Linked DNA regions of Homo sapiens: regions 1 and 2 are each linked to region 3. The links are contacts of gene promoters, found by promoter capture Hi-C in blood cells and fetal thymus (Javierre and others, 2016). All regions are on one chromosome and are shown on one strand. The core of a region is centred on a gene start or on the middle of the fragment in contact, and the rest is flanking DNA. Distances in the headings are between cores, read along the strand shown.

Evidence for each region. The method cuts DNA at HindIII sites, captures the fragments that hold promoters and counts their contacts. A CHiCAGO score of 5 or more calls a contact.
Region 1: a contact is called between a fragment that was not itself captured here and the fragment with the promoter of TRANK1 in region 3, in 2 of 17 cell types (M0 macrophages and M2 macrophages). The highest score is 5.8, in M0 macrophages.
Region 2: a contact is called between a fragment that was not itself captured here and the fragment with the promoter of TRANK1 in region 3, in 1 of 17 cell types (neutrophils). The highest score is 5.2, in neutrophils.

The regions. Positions count from the first base shown.
Region 1 is chr3:36,720,760-36,725,485 of GRCh38, reverse strand. DCLK3 (doublecortin like kinase 3) reads left to right here. Exons shown (of 5, transcript NM_001394672.2): 3 at 3,827-3,959. Among named protein-coding and RNA genes, the nearest start is that of DCLK3, 41 kb to the left of the region's middle. The HindIII fragment of the contact is 7,854 bases long and covers 1-4,726 here.
Region 2 is chr3:37,180,351-37,185,174 of GRCh38, reverse strand. All of the region lies in intron 1 of LOC105377642 (a long non-coding RNA gene), which reads right to left. Among named protein-coding and RNA genes, the nearest start is that of LRRFIP2, 8.2 kb to the right of the region's middle. The HindIII fragment of the contact is 1,587 bases long and covers 2,223-3,809 here.
Region 3 is chr3:36,942,532-36,946,891 of GRCh38, reverse strand. TRANK1 (tetratricopeptide repeat and ankyrin repeat containing 1) reads left to right here and starts at 1,838. Exons shown (of 24, transcript NM_001329998.2): 1 at 1,838-2,105. The coding sequence starts at 2,083. RefSeq lists an enhancer at 1,671-1,740 and a silencer at 1,971-2,190. The HindIII fragment of the contact is 7,723 bases long and covers 1-2,948 here.

The sequences.
Region 1 (4,726 bases), core at 43-2,542, 220 kb after region 3:
ACCACCATGCCTGGCTAATATTTTTACTATTTGTAGAGGTGGGGTCTCCTCGTGTTGCCCAGGCTGGTCTTGAACTCCTGGCCTCAAGTGATCCTTCCACCTTGGCCTCCCAAAGAGCTGGGATTACAGATGTAAGCCACTGCACCTGCCCCACCCCCCGTTTTTTTTTTTTTTGAGACGGAGTCTCGCTCTGTCGCCCAGGCTGGAGTGCAGTGGCGCGAGCTCAGCTCACTTCAAGCTCCGCCTCCTGGGTTCACGCTATTCTTCTGCCTCAGCCTTCAGAGTAGCTGGGACTACAGGCGCCCGCCATCAGGCTGGCTAATTTTTTGTATTTTTAGTAGAGATGGGTTTCACCGTGTTAGCCAGGATGGTCTTGATCTCCTGACCTCATGATCCGCCCGTCTTGGCCTCCCAAAGTGCTGGGATTACAGGCATGAGCCACCGAGCCCGGCCCATTTTTTTTTTTTTTTAACAAATGAGAAAACAGAGGCTCAGATGAGTAAAGAAATTTGTCCAAGACCATCCAGCCTCAAGTCTTGGAGTTGGAATTGTTCAAAGACTCCTGGCCTGTTTGATTCTTAATCCCCCACCCCTCCAAATGAGGGCCTGTATTTAACATCTCTCTCCTGCTTATTAGTTTACTTCCTCATTTTTCATAATTTTTAATTTTTGTGGGTATGTATTAGTCTGTTTTTATGCTGCTGATAAAGAGATACCTGAGACTGGGAAGAAAAAGAGGTTTAATAGACTTATGGTTCCACATGGCTGGGGAGGCCTTCCCACAATCATGGTGGAAGGCAAGGAGGAGCAAGTCATATCTTACATGGATGGCAGCAGGCAAATAGAGAGCTTGTGCAGGCAAACTCCCATTTTTGAAACTGTCAGATCTCGTGAGACTGATTCGCTATCATGAGAACAGCACAGGAAAGACCCGCCCCCATAATTCAATTACCTCCTACTGGGTTCCTCCCACAACATGTGGGAATTGTGGGAGTTACAATTCAAGATGAGATTTGGGTGGGGACACAGCCAAACCATATCATTCTGCCCTGGCCCCTCCCAAATCTCATGTCCTCACATTTCAAAACCAATCATGTCTTCTCAATAGTTCCCCAAAGTCTTAACTCATTTCAGCATTAACTTAAGAGTCCACAGTCCAAAGTCTCATCCAAGACAAGTAAAGTCCCTTCCTCCTGTGAGCCTGTAGAATCAAAAGCAAGTTAGTTACTTCCTAGATACAGTCGGGGTACAGGTGTTGGGTAAATACAGCCATTTCAACTGGGAGGAATTGGCCAAAACAAAGGGGCCACAGGCCCCATGAAAGTCTGAAATCTAGCGGGGCAGTCAAATCTTAAAGCTCCAAAATGATCTCTTTTGACTCCAGGTCTCACATCCAGGTCACGCTAATGCAAGAGGTGGGTTCCCATGGTCTTGGGCAGCTCCGCTCCTGTGGTTTTGCAGGGTACAGCCTCTCTCCTGGCTTCTTTCACAGGCTGGCATTGAAAGTCTGTGGCTTTTCTAGGTGCATGGTACAAGTTGTCATTGGTCTACCATTCTGAAGGCTGGAGGACAGTGGCCTTCTTCTCACAGCTCCATTAGGCAGTGCCCCAGTAGGGACTCTGTTTGGGGGATCCGACCCCACATTTCCCTTCTGCACTGCCCTAGCAGAGAGTCTCCATGAGAACCCCTCCCCTGCAGCAAACTTTTGCCTGGACATCCAGGCGTTTGCATACATCCTCTGAAATCTGGCAGAGGTTCCTAAACCCCAATTCTTGACTTCTGTGCAATGGCAGGCTCACTACCACTTGGAATTGACCAAGGCTTGCTTCCTCTGAAGCCACAACTCGAGCTCTACGTTTGCCCCTTTCAGCCATGGCTGGAGCGGCTGGGAGGCAGGGTACCAAGTCCCTAGGCTGCACACAGCATGGGGATCCTGGGCCCAGTCCACAAAACCACTTTTTCCTTGTAGGTCTCTACACCTGTGATAGGATGGGGTGCCATGAAGACCTCTGACATGCCCTGGAGACATTTTCCCCATTGTCTTGGGGATTAACATTTGGGTCCTCATTACTTAGGCAAATTTCTGCAGCCGGCTTTAATTTATCCTTGGAAAATGGGATTTTCTTTTCTATTGCATTGTCAGGCTGCAAATTTTCCAAACTTTTGTGCTCTGTTTCCCTTATAAAACTGAATGTCTTTAACAGCACCCAAGTCACCTCTTGAATGCTTTACTGCTTAGAAATTTCTTCCACCAGATATCCTAAATCATCTCTCTCAAGTTCAAAGTTCCATAAATCTCTAGGGCAGGGGCAAAATGCCACCAGTCTCTGCTAAAATGTAGCAAGAGTCACCTTTGTCCCAGTTCCCAACAAGTTCCTCATTTCCATCTGAGACCACCTCAGTCTGGACTTTATTGTCCATATCACTATCAGCATTTTGGGCAAAGCCATTCAACAAGTCTCTAGGAAGTTACAAACTTTCCCACATTTTTCTGTCTTCTTCTGAGCCCTCCAAACTGTACCAGTCTCTGCCTGTTACCAAGTTCCAAAGTCACTTCCACATTTTTGGGTATCTTTCCAGCAGTGCCCCACTCTACTGGTACCAGTTTACTGTATTAGTCCATTTTCATGCTGCTGATAAAGACATACCTGAGACCAGGAAAAAAAGGAGTTTAATGGACTATGGTTCCACATGGCTGGGGAGGCCTTCCCACAATTATGGTGGAAGGCAAGGAGGAGCAAGTCACATCTTACATGGATGGCATCAGGCAAAGAGAGAGCTTGTGCAGGCAAACTCCCATTTTTAAAACTGTCAGATCTCATGAGATTGATTCACTATCATGAGAACAGCATGGGAAAGACCCACTCCCATGATTCAATTACTGCCCACCGGGTTCCCCTCACAACATGTGGGAATTGTGGGAGTTACAATTCAAGATGAGATTTGGGTAGGGACACAGCCAAACCATATCAGGGTACATACTAGGTGCATATATTTTTGGGGTACATGAGATGTTTTGATACAGGCATGCAATGCATAATCATTACATCATGGAGAATGGGGTATTCATCCCCTCAAGCATTTATCCTTGTGTGATTACTTTTGCACCAACCTAATACAAGCAATCCAATTATACCCTTTTAGTTATTTAAAAATGTACAATTGAATTATCATTGACTATAGTCACCCTGTTTTTCTATCAAATAATAGGTCATATTCATTCTTTCTAAGTATTCTTTTTGTACCAATTAACCGTCCCTATCTCCCCCTCACCCCTGCCCCATACTTCTTCATTTTAATTCCCAGTCTTTTTCCTTTCTTTTTTCCCTCTGCCCAGCCTCTGCATTGCCCAGAGGCATTTTCTAATGCTCATGAAAGCTAGTCTGTGCTCAAAGTATCCTTGATCCTTGTTCTAAGTCAATGCTGTCTAATAGCCCTTTCTGCAACAATGGAAGTGTGTCTATCTGTGTTTCCCAATATAGTAGCCACAAGCCACAAGTGGCTTTTGAGCACTTGAAATGTGCCTAATGCAGCTGAGAAGCTAAATTTTAAATTTAATTTTACTTAATAAACTTAAGTAGCCACTTGTGACAATATGGTGCTACCATATTGGACGGCCTAGTAAATCTAACTCATTGGTTCTTAAGTTGAAAATGTGAGCCCTTGTCATTGAGGTCAAGTTAGCTTTGTCAGTGTTGGGCTAAGCTGTAATCTCATATAGGTTTATGGTTTGCTTTTCTTGACCTTGCATGGCTGTTGTTTCATTAGTATCCCTTCTTTGTTCTAATCACAATTTTGGTGGTTTGGGGATTTTGGTTTCTTACAGGTTCAGCGAAATGAGGACAAATCTACTACCTTGAAATTGGCTGATTTTGGACTTGCAAAGCATGTGGTGAGACCTATATTTACTGTGTGTGGGACCCCAACTTACGTAGCTCCCGAAATTCTTTCTGAGAAAGGTAAGTGTTACACATCGATCTGTGGGACTCTAGTTCCCTTACTAACAAATGTTTCATTTGTCATATTTACTAGTTTTCAATATGGAATAAATCTCAGAGAACTGACACTTAGGCTTGGATTTGGACTTCAATGAAAATATTTGAAGTAGGCTTGACCAAAGCATGAGAGCTTTCTCCTCATTAGGGCTGCCCTTGTTACAGTCAATGGATCAGTGTGTGTGCATGTGTGTGTGTGTGTGTGTGTGTTTATTGTGTTTAGGCAGGACAGTGAGATGAAAGATGATGGAGAATTGGGTGGGGAACTCAAGCAAGCAAGGCTACTTGACCCAAGGCTATCTCTAATAGGAGAGAATTGAAGCAGTCCTTATGGTACTTGGTTTAAAAATTTCTTCACCAACCTTGCATTTAAAGGAAAAGGATCCCATTTTCCTCCATGAACTCTATGAATATTTATTACCTACTTGTATATTATGCAAGGATCCAATGAGCTGTTTTAGTGACAAACTTTCTAAAACATTTAAAAAGGAAATAATAGTTATGATATGGCTCTAAATATATGAATGACTATTTGACTACTGTGGCACTCCAGGAGAAACCAATTTACCCACCATTGGTAAGATGGGAAGACTCTCATTGGGTTGCAGGGTTGGTGACAGGGAGAAGGGATGGACGGATAGTTTCCCAGCAGCAGAAGCATCAGGATAATTAAGATGAGGAGATGGCCAGGGATGGTGGCTCATGCCTGTAATCCCAGCTCTTTGGGAGGC
Region 2 (4,824 bases), core at 1,767-4,266, 240 kb before region 3:
GGAAGGCCCCACCTTCTAATACCATCACCTTGGGGGTTAGGAGTTCAACATATGAGTTTTGGCAGGACACAACATTCAGACCATAGCAGTAACAGACAATTTTTTTTTTTTTTGGAGACAGACTTTCGTTCTTGTCGCCCAGGCTGGAGTACAATGGCTCGATCTCGGCTCACTGCAACCTCTGCCTCCTTGGTTCAAATGATTCTCCTGTCTCAGCCTCCCAAGTAGCTGGGATTACCGGCGTGCACCACTACGCCTGGCTAATTTTGTATTTTTAGTAGAAACGGCGTTTCACCATGTTGGCCAGGCTAGTCTCAAACTCCTTAACTTGGGTGATCTGCCCGGCTCAGTCTCCGAAAGTGCTGGGATTACAGGCGTGAGCCACCGTGCCCGGCCGCAGATGTGGTATATTTCACGTTTGAGTATTTTTGAAAATAAAAATAAAATAAAATAACTGATAGTTCCATTCCTTAAACTTAACATTTGGGTGTGTTTTCTAGTATTTTTTCTGTATTTGTATTATTATTTGTGAGACGGGGTCTTGCTCTGTCACCCAGGCTGGAGTGCAGTGATGTGATCAAAGCTCACTGTAACCTTGAAATCCTGGGCTCAAGCAAATCCTGCCGTCTCAGCCTCCTGAGTAGCTAGGACTACAGGCGTAGGTCATCACACATGCCTGGCTAATTAAAACAAAAATGTTAAATGTTCATCTAGAACATATTGTTTAGTAACCTACTGTTTTACGTTAAAACATTATCCACTTTCTCCTACAATAGAAATTGTAATGGCTATAATACATGATTATTTCATTATCACATCTATTTTTAAGGAAACCAGGCCTAAATCTAGTTTCCATAATATTCTGATGAGCAGGACCACAGAGCAGTGATTTTGATCAGGATTGTGCCTGTTAAAAGCTGGCTACTCCATGGCATGCACAGCTCCAGGATGGGAGATTAACTTCAACAACCATTCATTTAGTTTGGTTTGATTTTCTGCCAGTCTCATGACCGACTTGAAGCACGTCCTAGAACAGAGAATGTTATGTTTGGTGTCCAAGGAAGCAGCAAACTAGAGGCGCCATCCCAAATTCTAGAATAATAGAGTCAACAATCGTTTCACACCAAAGTCATCCATTTTCTGAAGCAAATTTTGAACTAAAATGTTAAAAATGTTTTGTAAGGTAGATTAAACGTCATGTGGGGAAAATAACTTGTTAGTGCAAAAAGGAAAAGAAACTGAAAACAGACATATCTGTAGATAAATTTTCCTTTCAAGATTCTACAGTATAAATATCCATCTAAAAGATGAATTGGCTTCTTAAGCCAATTCATTGTCACTTGCTTCTGAAGTGTTTCCCAGGCACCTTAGTTATCAGCCACCCTGCCCCTAGGGTATCGAGGACAAATACGTTTCAGGTAGCTTGACAACAGGAAAGAATTTTAAGGACAAGAAACTACCTGCAATACCAGTTGGGAGTGTCCTGAAAAGTGATGTACTGAAATACTGACCCTTCCAGCTGGTTAACTTTCATAATCATGCATTTACTTTTCAATGGCAACTGAATATATGACTGCCTGATGATTCAGGGGAAAAAATGCAGTATTGTGTGTGGAATTGGAAGAGATTCAAAGTGAGTGCCATGGCAGTGACTAACTTCTTTCAAAAGCTTAAGGAAGAAACAATGCATAGGCCTTTGAGTTAGTTGGTGTAGTAAGCATTGTGTTTTCACCATCAGTATCCATTTCTATATTTTGGTGACAGTACTCCATTTTGTTCTTCCGGGAACCACTCCTCTCCTATAGTCCATGATCTTTGGGTGGACCAGAGGTAAAGCATATGACTCAAATTTGGCTAATCATAGCACAAGAGTTTTCCTTGCTACAGTAATTTGTTAAAGGATGGGAAGGTAACTCTCTATCCTTTAACAAATTACTGTAGCAAGGTAATTGGTTCAGTGAATCTAGGAGCTACTGGAAGGGATCTCTTGCTGGACTTGGACTGGAGTGAATATAGAACTAAAGTTTTTGAGAACTGTCTTGTTGCCACATGATGAAGTCTGAGTATAAGCCAATATGGAGAAAAGCTGATTGGGGTTTTTTTTGTTTTGTTTTGTTTTTAAAAGAAACAGGATCTTGCTGTGTTGCCCAGGCTGGAGTGCAGTGGCTATTCACAGGCACAATTGTGGTGCCATATAAGCCTTGGACTCCTGGGCTCAAGCTTCCTGAGGTAGCTGACATTACTACTACAGGCACAAACCTGGGCCTTTTTTTTTTTTTTTTTTTACCCCCCAGAAGGCTCTCTCTTTATTTGTCTGACCTGAAATGGGCATAAGTTGCAACAGATTGAAAATTCTAACTCTACCTTCATTTTCAGAAGTGTCTAAATTAAACATTTATAAGAAAATTGATGTTTTATAAAAACAAAAGACATGAAAAGCTCTGTATTCAAATATTTTTATTCTGTGAACATTGAAAATGCCTTCTAGGAATATGGCATTGCGGGGTGTATACAAAAAAATAGATCTTTTCTCAAAAAGCATGTAATCTGCTTGGGAAGACAAGAACATTATTAAAAAAAACCCTTTAGAACACAAGTGAGTTGTGGACAGTAATACATATAAATAATCTGAATGGCAGTATATAATAACTGATAACTATCTACAACCAAAACCAGCCTAGAACAAAAGCATGAGTAAGAGGCTTTAGGGTACACTTCTGAGCATTTTCTTTTAATTCTCAAGACATTTGTCCTTGTTTTCCTAATCTTTAGGTGGATTCATACATTTGTATTTCCTACCTGGTATTTCCTCTGAATTACTGACTTGTAATTCAAACACCACATCTGCTCCCAACCACTTCCTACCACTTCCACTGCTACCTGAATTATTGTTATAGCCTAACTGGTCTTCCTGCTCTCACCTTTGCTCCCCTAAAGTCTATTCACAATAACCAGTTTAAACTATTATTTTATTAGGAAAAATTTCAAACACACAGCAAAGTTGAAAGAATTTTACAGCAATCACTTCTGCATCCACCACTTATATTCTACCATTAACAGAATACTCCTTTAAATAATGGCAGATGTGTAGTTCCTCTGCTCAAAACCCTCCCACGGCTTAGCTTACTCAAAGAGGAAAAACCAGGCTGGGCGTGATAGCTCACGTCTGTAATCCCAGCATTTTGGAAGACTTTAGGAGGCTGAGGTGGGAGGATCACTTGCGGGCGGGAGTTTAAGACCAGCCTGGGCAACATAATGAAATACCATCTCTTAAAAAAAAAAACTTAGCTGGGCGTGGTGCTGGATGCCTGTAGTCCCAGTTACTAAGGAAGCTAAGGCAGGAAGATCACTTGAGCCCAGAAGTTCAGGACTGCAGTGAGCTATGAGCACGCCATTGCACTCCAGCCTGAGTGACAAAGTGAGACCCTGTCTTAAGGGGGAAAAAAAAAAGGAGAAAAGCCAATTTGTTACCATGGTCACCAGTATGATCTGGCCTCTGTTACCATTCTTCCCACTTGTCCTTTACTCTTCAGCCTTGTTACTGCTCCTTAAACATGGCAGGCACATTTTTGTTTTAGGGCCTTTGCACTTGCTGTTCCTTTGCTTCAAATGCTCTTCTCCCAGGTATTTACATGGCTTGCTTCTCTTTCTTTCGATCACCTCATTAGTTCTGACTCTTCCAAGTATTAAGTTGAACCATATGACCCTAATGTCACACAACTGGATTGAACCATTCAAACCTAAGGTGTAATGTCATTCTCAGGTCAAAAATTATTTTTAAAAATCAGTAATTTCATAGGATTCAAGCTTATAAAATAGCAACTCCACCCTACCCTTTCATTCTCACCCTGTTCCAATATTCTTACAGCACTATTATCTTATTTATGATTTGTATATTGTATGTAAGATCCTCACAGATAGGGAATTTGTCTGTTGTCCACTGCCGTGTGCTCTGTGTGCAGAGTAGGATTTGGTCTATAGCAGGCCTTCAGGATGCATTTATTTAAAGAATGAGTAGCTGAGACTACAGGTGCGCACCACCACACTTGGCTAATGTTTTCATTTTTTTATATTTTGTAGAGATGGGGTCCCACTATATTGCTTAGGCTGGTCTCAAACTCCTGGGCGCAAGCAATCCTCTCACCTTGGCCTCCCAAAGTGCTGGGCTTACAGTTGTGAGCTACCACACCTGGCCAAAAATGAATTCTTTTTAAAAAATTTTTCTTTTTTGAAGCAAAGTCTTACTCTGTGGCCCAGGCTGGAGTGCAGTGCCATGATCTCGACTCACTGCAGCCTACGCCTCCCCGGTTCAAGCGATTCTTGTGCCTCAGCCTCCCGAGTAGCTGGGACCACAGGTGCATGACACTATGCATGAATGAATTCTTAACATTGAAGTCAGAGTGGTCTTTTGAAAATACAAATCTGATCATGTTGCTCTCACTAAAAACTCGATTGGTTTGCAGATTTCGGAACAAAGATTAGAATCTTTACCACAGCCTCTAAGACCCTGAATGGTGGACCCTTAACTCTCCAGACTCATCTCACATTCTCTCATTTCAGTCCCTGGGACTCTGTTGCTTCTATCATGAGGTCTATTTGTGCTTTCTTGCTTTCCCCCACCTCTGCATGTAGTTTATACTCTGAGGCACTTTTAAATCTCGGCTTGAAACATCTATTCCCAGGAGAAGGCATTTCTGATACCTCAGGTTAGGTCAAGTCCCAATGCTTTTATGCCCTCATGGCAGCACATACCTACCCTTTGTAATACCTGTTAGATTTTAAAGGTACTTTTGTGAGATTGTCTAACTTACCAGTTTCATAAGA
Region 3 (4,360 bases), core at 589-3,088:
TGGAGGAAGGATATGGAAAGTATCCTAAAAGTGAAAGGACCAATGATGTCTGGGAAATAGCAAGTAGTCCAACTATTTGGTGGCTAGCAGTGATTCTCAAACTTTGCAGCATGTTATAGTCTTTTAAAAATCCTGATGTGGCTGGGTGTGGTGGCTTGCACCTATAATTCCAGCACTTGGGGAAGCCTAAGTGGGTGGATCACTTGAGGTCATGGGTTTGAGACCAGCCTGTCTAACATGGTGAAACCCCGCCTCTACTAAAAATCTAAAAAATTCAGCCGGGCAAGGCGGCGGGCACCTGTAATCCCAGTTACTCAGGAGGCTGAGGCAGGAGAATCACCTGAACAACAGAGTGAGACTGTCTCAAAACAAAAACAAAAACAAAAATTCCTGACGCCCATGTCAATTAGACAATTTGGGAGTAAAAGCCAAACATACGCATATTTTTGGGTTTTTTTTTTTTTTTTTGTATTTTTAGTAGAGATGGGGTTTCTCCATGTTGGTCTGGCTGGTCTCAAACTCCCGACCTCAGGTGATCCGCCTGCCTCAGGCTTCCAAAGTGCTGGGATTACGGGTGTGAGCCACCCGCCCGGCCTTGTTTTTGTTTTTAAGCTCCCCAGGTGATTCTATTGTGTAACTAAGGTTGGGAAGCACTGCAGTATAGAGTTTGCATGAGGAAGCTAAGATTGGAAATGTGGGGCAAGATTGTGAAGAAGAATCTCAAATGCCCGGGTACCTAACCTGATCTCTAGGAGACAATGGAGTGCCACTGATGGCTTTTGAACTGTACGTGATTCATCCTGATGTTTGGGGAAGATCAATGCACAGAAATCTCTGTGAGATTCTAGAAGCAAGGAGACCACTAGCTAGACTGAGACTAGTTCACAACGCAGAATGACCAGTGGAGAGAAGTATACTGTGTGCCTTAGGTGTGTCCACGTGTTACCAAAGCCTCTCTGTTTCGCTGAAATGTGTGGTCCCCCTCACTAAAGCTCTGGTGGTGTCCTCCCTGCCACCAGGCAGCCTGGTGTGGTGGTCCCCCAGAAGGATGGGCGAACCACCGGGATGCAGTGTAGGCCGAACCTTGCCCCAGGGGAGGGCGGCGGGCTTAGCTCTCTGATTGGGTGGATTCTCTGGTGTGTAGGAAAGTACTCCCAGGCCCAGAGAAGCTGTGAAGACCAAACCGGCTCCCTAGGCCGAGAACCGCTGGGGAGGTAGCAGCCAGAGGTGGTCCTCTCCGACCCACTACTCTGTCGATCATCACTGGGGAGGTGGAAAGACAAGGCAAGATCCTCATTTTGTTGCCTGCTCAGGCCTGTGCGCACTTACTCTCCATGGACACGACGGTGAGCGTGGAGCAGCCCGCGGTCTCGCTGCCCCCTTCACTCCCGGACCCCCAGCCTCCCCAGAGTGGAGGGGCAAGCACACAGTAAGTACTTGATATTCGCCCGACTCCTGAGCTCCTCATCTGTAGGAGCTAGGGGGCTTGTTCTCCGTACGTCCTTTGTTGGAGGGAGGAACGAGGGAAGGAGAAAACCCACGCTGAGGCCGTTGGCCGATCACTTTCTTTACCTCCCGGACAACATTGATGGGCCCCACTAAGGAAAGCCGAATTCTCGCATGCCCGAGGAGTGTCGGAGGTGGTTGTGCGCCTAGTCCCTCCTGGTAAAGGGTTCGAAGCACTCGTTTATTCAAAGGCGGCCGAGAGCCATACCATTTGCTTGCATGACGGGAGACACCGAAACGCCCCTTTTGAACGCGATGACAAACACCTCCTCCCACTCAGCAGCGACGTGCACGTGACAGTTTTTGGGCTCTCGCAACTACGTGGAAACTTGGAATAGGTCTGCGGCTGCACACCGCCCGGACGCCGGGGTTCCTGCGTCCCCCGCCCCCTCTGATCGCGGCTGGGTAGCCGAGCCGCAGGCAGCTGGGGGCCCCCGAACGCCGCCTCTGCATCGCGCCGCCCCTGCCCCGGGCTCCGGTAGCTTTCGGGCTTCCGCACTGCCCGCCGCGCCCTGCCCACAGGGAAGCGCTTCCCCAGGCGGCGGCGGTCCTGGTGCGGACCCTCCGGCCGCAGCCATGTGGGACCCGCGGGCAGCTAGGTGCGTAGCGGCGCGGGAAGCACTGGGGCATCTCTGGCCTTCCGGGCCCGCCACCCTTCCTGGCGGGAGGCGGCCGCGCGCGGGGACTGGCGACCCTGAGGTAGCGGCCGAACGGGCCCGCCCGGCCATCCCTGTGGGGCCCACAGCCATCTAGGTGCAGACCCGAGCCAGTTGCGCGGGGTCGGTCGCGGGGGACGGCTTCGGCCTTTTCGGTCCGGAGGGACCAGGGCACGCGCTGCGACAGGACTGCGGCGGCGCGCGGCCTGCCTAGCTCCCACCCCGGCATCGAAGCCGCAGCTCTCGGGCCCACCTCCGCATCCTCAGGGGTTCCCGGGGGCTGCCGACAGGTTCCTGACCAGCGAGCGCGCCCCCGGGGCAAGCATTCTTGGCGGGCAGAAACCTGGGAGCGGAGCACAGCGGTGCAAGGGAACCGTGCCAGGCGGGAAGGGCGGAATTTGCGGGGAACTTGGAGCGCGCTGGCCTCTTCCCGGCAGTAGGAGGCCTTCTTCCCTGCCCGCCCGATTGAGGGCTGCTGGGCTGGCTCAAACTGGACTGCACGGTCCATCAGCCTGGGCTCACCGAGTCTAGGGGGAAGGTAGTAGTAGGGACCCAAGGCTGGGAAGCGGAGCCCTTAGAAGCCCTTGCTTCTGCCTCGGAGCGTTTCCGAACCGGAGCTCGGAGTCTGTTGCCTGGGAGGCGCGTTGCGTTTCCTCCCAACTCCCTGTCTCCGTCCCGCGGGGAGCCCTGTGCACTTGCAACCCGGCTGAGATAGAGCCCATCTTTGAGGTGCAGCTCAAGCCACCTTTTCTCCCAGATCGGGGTGTTTCTGGGCAGTTGAAAGCTTTGGTGCTTCCTAGGAAAATTTTTATGGAAGTGTGCAATTTGGAAAATAAAAGAAAAAAAAATTTAAGAAGCAGAAAGAGAATGGGGCTCTGAGGTCTCTAGTTCCCCTATCTGCTCCAACCCAGTTGCTGCTGGCTCAGTTAGTCCTTATGCGGGAAGGAATAGCTGGGATTAAAGCCTTGTGTTCCCAGCGTAGGTATGCGCTCCTGCTCCCTCGTGCTGAGCGTTTTGGGTTCCAGGATCCTTTTTGATATAAGGCTGTTATCCGGATGGCATCCTGTTTGGTCCTTTATAGAAAAAAAAAAAAAGTACTACGGTGTGTGTGTGTTGGAGGGCGGGGACGGTGGTCAGGAGTTTGTTTCAACTGTTTTCCAGGCAGGTCTGTTTTGTAGGATTGCAGGATAGGTGCTTGAGTTCATATGCTCTTTGTTGGCTTTTGCATCCTCTGCGGGGGGTGGGGGGGTGGGTAGAGGTGGGATAGGTGTGTGTGGCATTCACTCCCAGAGTCGCATCCCACTGCCACTGGCCTATGTATGGGTTTCTAGGTCTTTTTTCGATCAAGACCCACACCCACCCACCTATATGTATATAATGTATATATGCATAATATGTGTGTAATATTATATATACATATATACGCACACACACATACACATGTAAAATTGCAGCAAGAGCTTCATGGTATAGTTATTCTTTCTACAGGGTGAGGCACAATGATATTTTCCATTCTATTCCCTCCCCCCACCCCCCACCAGAGGGATTCTCGCTCTGTCACCCAGGCTGGAGTGCAATGAGGCGATCTCGGCTCACTGCAGCCTCCGCCTCCTGGGTTCAAGCGATTCTCCTGCCGCAGCCTCCGAAATAGCTGGGATTACGGGGGGCCGGGGGTGGGGCGCCACCAAGCCTGACTAATTTTTGTATTTTTAGTGGAGACGGTGTTTCGCCATGTTGGCCATGCTGGTCTCAAACTCCTGATCTCAAGTGATCCACCCGCTTCTGCCTGCCAGAGTGCTGGGATTACACGCCAGAGCCACCACGCCGGCCCATTCTATGTTTTTTTTTTTTTTTTAAAGCGGGTCATAAATTGTTAACTTCACTTTATGACCGACTGACCAGCTTTATGGGGCAACTGCAGGTTCTGTTTCCGCCGCTCTCCCAGAGTATGAGGAGACCGTCAGCATTTCACAGGGGAGTTGACTTTGGAAGTGAGGACTTGGTGTAGGAGTGATGAAGTAGACTGAAATTCATACTTGAGTGATAGAATACTGTAGGACATGGCTGTGTGGTTCAAGCCAGTACCATCTACAAAGACAGACCGCAGATGCTTCTGGTTACTTTGGTTCTGGCTATGTGTCCACAGAGAGCTGGCCTCCTGCATGGATCCCAGTGGGGCCTGGTGTAAATGCTAGGGA